Linked DNA regions of Homo sapiens: region 2 is linked to region 1. Evidence: promoter capture Hi-C in human tissues and cell types (Jung and others, 2019). All regions are on one chromosome and are shown on one strand. The core of a region is centred on a gene start or on the middle of the fragment in contact, and the rest is flanking DNA. Distances in the headings are between cores, read along the strand shown. Region 1 holds the start of BIRC5 (baculoviral IAP repeat containing 5). Region 2 overlaps TNRC6C (trinucleotide repeat containing adaptor 6C).

What was found. Contacts are between HindIII fragments. The study calls those that stand out against the background at their distance.
Region 2: a fragment that was not itself captured here is called in contact with the fragment with the promoter of BIRC5 in region 1 in 1 of the 25 tissues and cell types used here (spleen).

Annotation. Positions count from the first base shown.
Region 1 is chr17:78,212,819-78,216,269 of GRCh38, reverse strand. BIRC5 (baculoviral IAP repeat containing 5) reads right to left here and starts at 2,017. Exons shown (of 4, transcript NM_001168.3): 1 at 1,843-2,017; 2 at 1,481-1,590. The coding sequence starts at 1,953. RefSeq lists an enhancer at 1,371-2,272. The HindIII fragment of the contact is 20,243 bases long and covers 1-3,451 here.
Region 2 is chr17:78,068,981-78,072,600 of GRCh38, reverse strand. It overlaps TNRC6C (trinucleotide repeat containing adaptor 6C), which reads right to left. Exons shown (of 23, transcript NM_001142640.2): 8 at 1,436-1,516. Among named protein-coding and RNA genes, the nearest start is that of TMC6, 58 kb to the left of the region's middle. The HindIII fragment of the contact is 3,903 bases long and covers 212-3,620 here.

The DNA.
Region 1 (3,451 bases), core at 768-3,267:
TTTTCTTTTTTTTTTTTTTTTGAGACGGAGTCTCATTCTGTCGCCCAGGCTGGAGTGCAGTGGTGCAATCTCGGCTCACTGCAAGCTCCGCCTCCTGGGTTCACGCCATTCTCCTGCCTCAGCCTCCCGAGTAGCTGGGACTACAGGCGCCCACCACCACGCCCGGCTAATTTTTTGTATTTTTAGTGGAGACGGGGTTTCACCGTATTAGCCAAGATGGTCTCGATCTCCTGACCTCGTGATCCGCCCGCCTCGGCCTCCCAAAGTGCTGGTATTACAGGCGTAAGCCACCGTGCCCGGCCCACTGTAAGGATTAAGGGCAGAGAAGGGCATTATTGCCCCGGGTTCCCCAAGGGACCCCCTAGCTCACACTCTCATTTTCTGCTAGGGGAGTCTCCCTGTATAACTGACTATCACCGTTACCAGAACTGCATTACAATGAAAACATGGCCACACAAAGTCCAAAAAGACAGCCAGTTGTAACTCTAATCTGAAAATATCATAACACTTATTCATTTTCAAGAAGAATACCACTGATCTTTTCCCAGTGATTACGGGGATGCAGTATAACCACCATAGCAAACATACTAAGAAAAAAAACAGCTACTCTCTTCTGGCCAAAAAGAAAAACAACTGGGGTGATTCTCCAGGGGAAAAAAATTAAAGCTGTGGAAGCAACTGAATCCGACAGAAAAAAAGGTGAGAAAAGAATATGGCATTACAGTGTGGAAAGACAGATACCATCCGAGTACAGAATTTCATTGTCATTAACTAGGCATCTTGAAGAAAAAAATCCAGAACAACACTGAAGTATATGCTTTCTTTCTTTTTTTTTTTTCAATTTTTTATTTTTATGACGGAGTCTCGCTCTGTCGCCGAGGCTGGAGTGCATTGGCACAATCTCGGCTCACTGCAACCTCCGCCTCCCAGGTTCAAGCGATTCTCCTGCCTTAGCCTCCCGAGTAGCTGGGATTACGGGCGTGCGCTACCATGCCCGGCTAATTTTTGTATTTTTAGTAGAGACGGGGTTTCGCCAAGTTGGCCAGGCAGGTCTTGAACTCCTGACCTCAGGTGATCCGCCCGCCTCAGCCTCCGAAAGTGTGAAGTGCACACTTTCAAAGGGTAATTTTTGTGCTGTGTAGGTTATATTTCAATTAAACTGTTTTTTAAAAAATCTCAAAAAAAGCACTTGGACGTTCCTGGGAGTTCACAACAACAGGGTCTGCTGATGTATTCTGTTGAACATGAAAGGCATCAGGCATCTTACGTCCACCCCAAGGCATTTTGGTCAAATGAGATTTAATTAGGTTGTAAGCATCACCAAGGCACCAGCATATAGAGAGGTATCCGTTCACAACAGCTGTTTAAGAAGCAATGAGGGTGGAAAGCAACCCTCCCATACTAAGTGTCTTTGCAACTCAAATCTTTTGACAACTCAGTTCAAAACAAAGCCCATCGAGGCTGGCCAGAGAAGACTTACATGGGGTCGTCATCTGGCTCCCAGCCTTCCAGCTCCTTGAAGCAGAAGAAACACTGGGCCAAGTCTGGCTCGTTCTCAGTGGGGCAGTGGATGAAGCCAGCCTCGGCCATCTGCAAGGGACAGCACAGCTCGTGAGTGGACGTGGCAGCCCGGAACCCCGAGGCCCAGCCACAAAGGCCTCGATGGGGACAAAGCAGGGAGGGGAGGCCGGCCTGGACCCAAGGGGCCCAGCCACAGTGGCCTCGCTGGGGACAGGACGGGGAGGGGAGGGCGGCTTGTACCCCCGAGGCCCAGTCACAGTGGCCTCGCTAGGGACAGGGCAAGGCGGGCGTGGGGGACCCCAGGAGGCCGGGCAGTCTCACCCGCTCCGGGGTGCAGGCGCAGCCCTCCAAGAAGGGCCAGTTCTTGAATGTAGAGATGCGGTGGTCCTTGAGAAAGGGCTGCCAGGCAGGGGGCAACGTCGGGGCACCCATGCCGCCGCCGCCACCTCTGCCAACGGGTCCCGCGATTCAAATCTGGCGGTTAATGGCGCGCCGCGGGGCATGTCGGGAGCGCACGCCCTCTTAGGCGGTCCACCCCCCGCGGCCTTCTGGGAGTAGAGGCGGGGCGGCGCGGGGTGTGCCGGGAGTTGTAGTCCTCCCGCCGCGTGGCTCTGCCCGTGGTCGCGGTGCACCCAGCGACGCCGCGCCAGCTCGTCCCTGCCCACACCTAGCGCCCCCTCGACTGCTTTCAAAGAACGCGTGCAGGCCGGGTGCAGTGGCTCACGCCTGTAATCCCAACACTTTGAGAGGCCTAGGCAGGAGCATCACTTGAGTCCTGGAGTTCAAGACCAGCCTGGCCATCACGGTGAAACCTTGTCTCTACTAAAAATACAAAAATTAGCTGGGCGTGGTGGTGCATGCCTGTAATCCCAACTACTCGGGAGGCTGAGGCAGGAGAATCGCTTGAACCCGGGAGGCAGAGGGTGCAGTGAGCTGAGATTGTGCCATTGCACTCCAGCCTAGGCAACAAGAGCAAAACTCAGTCTAAAAAAAAAAAAAAAGTCAGACAGGAGAGCTTTACAGGGTGCCACCTCTGCAAAAAGCATCTACTCCAGACGGGCATGAAGGACAAATGAACAGGGGAGGGATGGAGTGCAGCAGACATCGCTGTCCCGGCGAGTACATCGTTGACTGCACGACCTGGGTTTCCAGGAGGGCCACCTTCTGGAGTCAGGGGCCAGGGACTGGGCCACTACCGTGATAAGAAGACAAGGGAGCTGGGGAAAGCCCAGTGGAGGGTGGGGGCCTGTGCTCAGGGCAAACTCCTCCTTTCCCTTCGCAAAGCAGGGCGTCCCACCAACAGTAAGTCCTGCAGCCTATTAAAAAAAAAATCAGTGTGTCCTCTGCTTTGGAACAGGGTGTTCTGGAGTCACTTCTGGAGCTGGGCATCACATCCACTCACTTCTCTGGTTCTATGGCCAGAGATAAGAGGCCTGGCCTTATTAGCCCTCCAGCCCCACGCAGGCCTGGTGCCTCCACTGTCTTTTTCATTTTGGGGTTTATTTATTTATTTATTTATTTTTGCAACCTCTCCCCACCCCTCCCACCCCGCCCCCATTCTTTAATACAGTAACTTTTTATTTTGATGTTTATTTATTTATTTGAAACTGAGTCTCGCTCTATCGCCCAGGCTGGAGTGCAGTGGCATGATCTCAGCTCACTGCAACCTCCTCCCCGCCACGGGTTCAAGCGATTCTCCTGCCTCAGCCTCCCGAGTAGCTGAGATTAAAGGCATGCACCACCACACCAGGCTAATTTTTGTATTTTTAGTAGAGATGGGGTTTCACCATGTTTGCCAGGCTGGTCTCAAACTCCTGACCTCAAGTGATCTGCCTGCCTCGGCCTCCCAAAGTGCTGGGATTACAGATGTGAGCCACTGCGCCCGGCCCGATGTCAATTTAAATAAAAGATAATTGCAAGAATAGTACAA
Region 2 (3,620 bases), core at 914-3,413, 140 kb after region 1:
CTAAAATCATTCTGTACAACACTGAGTAGCAATGATTCCATAAAGGTGCAATCTATGCCAAGACAGCAGGGCCACAGACAAGGACACCTGCCATGAGGACAGGATGCTCTCCTAGGACAGGATTCCTGTCCCAGTGAGGCCCATCTCCATGTCTCTCTCTAGTCCCAGCAACTATGTCAGTCACTGTCGGAGTGCAGAGCTGCATTTTTCGCTTCATCAACTCTAGGCTCCACCATCAACAACTTTTCTCTAAGAAACAGAAAAACAAAACAAGTAGATTCATTTTGATAATTTATGACTGGAACACAGTAATCTCAGGGGATGACTGAAGCCGCTAGGGTGCCATGATAACTGAGACAGTATAAATCAGGACACGCTGAAGCCACCGTCAACCTCTTGCCCACTCACACAGGCAGAGCCTGGGCCACCAACACAATGCCCTGCCCAATACAGAGGGCCTGTGCCCAGTGTGAAGGATGGGGTTCCTCCGCTACATGGAGGCCATTCTGGACTCATTCTTTTAGAAGCATCTACGGTAACTGAAAGATAAACACTAATTTGAATAAGGATTTTGAAAGAAGTCCCATGAAGCGAATACATGGCGAATATGGGCGACATCCCTTGCCATCTGAACTGCCATCCAATCTCAGGAATTGAACAGACTGTGGTATTTTCAGGGGAACGCCCTACAATTATGAATTCTCCCTACGTATGACTGGAAACTTAGGAACTAAGTAGGTCTGGTTAGGATACTTTTTCTGGATATGAAACCTTAGTACTTTACATCAAGTTTTCTTTTGTGATCTCTGTCAATATACTCTATACACTAATGAAATTCACGTTTAATTATAAATTAAAAGTAAACATAAAACTGTATAAACCAATGAAAATTAAAAATCACACAGCATTTTCCGGCTGGGCGTAGTGACTCATGCCTGTAATCCCAGCACTTTGGGAGGCCGAGGCGGGCAGATCGCTTGAGCCCAGGTGTTCGAGACCAGCCTGGCCAACACAGTGAAGCCTCGTCTCTACCAAAAATACAAAAATTAGCCGAGCATGGTGGCTCACGCCTGTAGTCCCAGCTCTACTCGGGAGGCCGAGACAGGAGGACTGCTTGATCACACCACTGCACTGCAGCCTAGGTGCCAGAGCAAGACCCTGTCTCCAAAAAAAAAAAGCATTTTCTATTCTAGGAAAAGGCTCTCACACCCTTTTTGATAGAAATTGTGTGGGTCTTTGCTGTAGTTCAAAGCAATGATCTCTAACCCAAACTACCCAGGTAAAAGGGAGATTTAAGAGTTAGATGATGTCAATATCTCATTCCTCAAACAATCTTGGTGTCTTCTGACACACATAACAAACATGGAGAGGAAACAATGAGGGCATTTCATTTTGGGAAGCATGGTGGGTAGCAGTAAACTACGACGCCAGTTACCGGGAAGCCCATGTCTGTGAGTTGTTTGATCAGCCGGCTCATGATCCAGGCCTCATCCTGCTTGCCAGACGTCTTCATGCCCTTGAACAAAGTGTGGGAAAGGGGGAAGTCCATGAGCTACATTTTAATGCATTTCTACCAGAAATGGGAGACAGCCTAAATTCAGGGTCATTTAAAAGTCACAGGATCTTTTTGTATTAACATTGAATAATGCTGTATTCCAGAAACTCCCTAACAGTATTTCGTGGCTACTGCTACGGAAAGCATCAAGGTACATTTGCAGGTTGGTATATATGTGCAATTTATGAACTTAAAGCAAGATAATTATTTCTCTTTCCCAGATAATTAATTTAGTTTATCACAAATATAGACTACTTTTACTATCCAATAATCCTAAGCGCTCCCTTGAACACAGCCCTATGTGAAGTTTACTAAAAATTACACTTTTTGCCTTTTCTAAGCTTTATTCTGAAAAATGATAAAATGAGGGGGTTTATTCCAATGAGTAAAGAGGCAGCAAGAAGAAAGGATGAAACAACCTGTTAATTTTATTAACTATTTGTTACTTATAGCTCATAGGGTAGAGAAAAGGAATAAGGAGGAAAATGTCAGTGAAGGAGAGGATGAGGAAAAAGGTCAGCTACAGAAAGAGCAGTGGGGGTGGGGGAGGGCTCGGCACCACAGAAGAGCCAGGAGGCTTCTCAATAACTTCCCTCTGAGCCTATAAATGCAAAGGTTCTAATGATGCATTATTACAATATGAAAAAAATTCCCTTCCAAAAATATTCTTCATAGTGTTTTTCACAATTGAGCCTGCCACAGCTATATCATGGAGCATATGGAGCTCTATAAACAGGCTTTCTTTCCTCAAGGAACTAGCTTATTTTGGGGCTATTTCAATCATTACTATGCTGCCAGAGCCAGATTAGTCAAGATTTTAATTTACCAATTTGCTATTTTTGGTCCCATCATTAACTGGATTATTTGCCAGCCCAACTGTAAAAAGGATTCTTTTTGATGTCTGTAATCACTTCTACTCCTCATGAGCGGAGAGCTCTGATTTTAGTTTCTGGTTTCTGCTGATTATTAACTGAATGCTTTTATAAACTATATTTTTTTGAACATGAATACATTCACACGATTCAAAAGTATAAACAAGGTATAAAGAAAGTTTTCATCTCATGCCACCCCATTTGCTTAGTTCCTGTTCTCTCGAAGAGGCACTACTCATAGCAGTTTCTTATTTGCCCTTCCAGAGAATTTAGAACATTCTGTAGAAGCTGATACACTACGTGTGCATGCATGCATACACACACTCACATACACACACACACGTTTTCTTCCTCCTACCCCACAAAATAGGGTGTGTGCTGTACATGTTTTTCTGCACCTTGCTTTTAATTTAACAATGTACTTTAGTGATCTTTTCATATCAATACATAGATAGAATTTCCTTTTAGTTCTGTATAATGTAGAAGTGACATAATTAACTTGTTACTCCATCAATGTACACATAAATTATTGTTATCTTTTTACTACAAAAATGCTGCAATACAAAACTGTATAAATGCCACAAAGTGAGACTCTGTCTCTACAGAAAAAATAAAAAATAAAATTAGTTGGGCAGAGTGGCATGCACCTGTAGACCCAGCTACTCAGGAGGCTGAGGCAGGAGGACAATTCGAGCCCAGGAGTTCAAGGTTGTACTCCAGCCCCTAAGGTGACACAGCAAGACTCTGTCTCTAAAAAAATTTTTTTAAATAAAAAAATCAAAACGCTGGCTTTCTGTGGGTCTGAGAGATGAAAAATGGCAGGTGTCTCTGAGTGCTGTCTGGAACTGCACTGCCTTCCTGTGAGTCCGTGTCTAGGAGCCACTGGTGCTCCTTCTCTGTGGACCAGCTACTCTTCACATTCTGTGCTCCTTTTTCTACTGGGTTTCTGGCTGATTTTTTTTTTAAATCAGTTTCTAGGACTTTATGTATCAGGGGATTGGCCCTCTCTATGATATGAGTTATAAACATATTTTTCCAGTTTGCTATTTTTCTTTTGACTTTGATTATGGTATTTTCTGTCATGTACAGTTTTTACATTTATCTATTGACACAAAAAAATTTTATTTTATGGCTTTTAGATTTTGGTCATAGTTAGGCCTCTCTGAGTCCAAAATTGTTTTTAATGTTCTTTC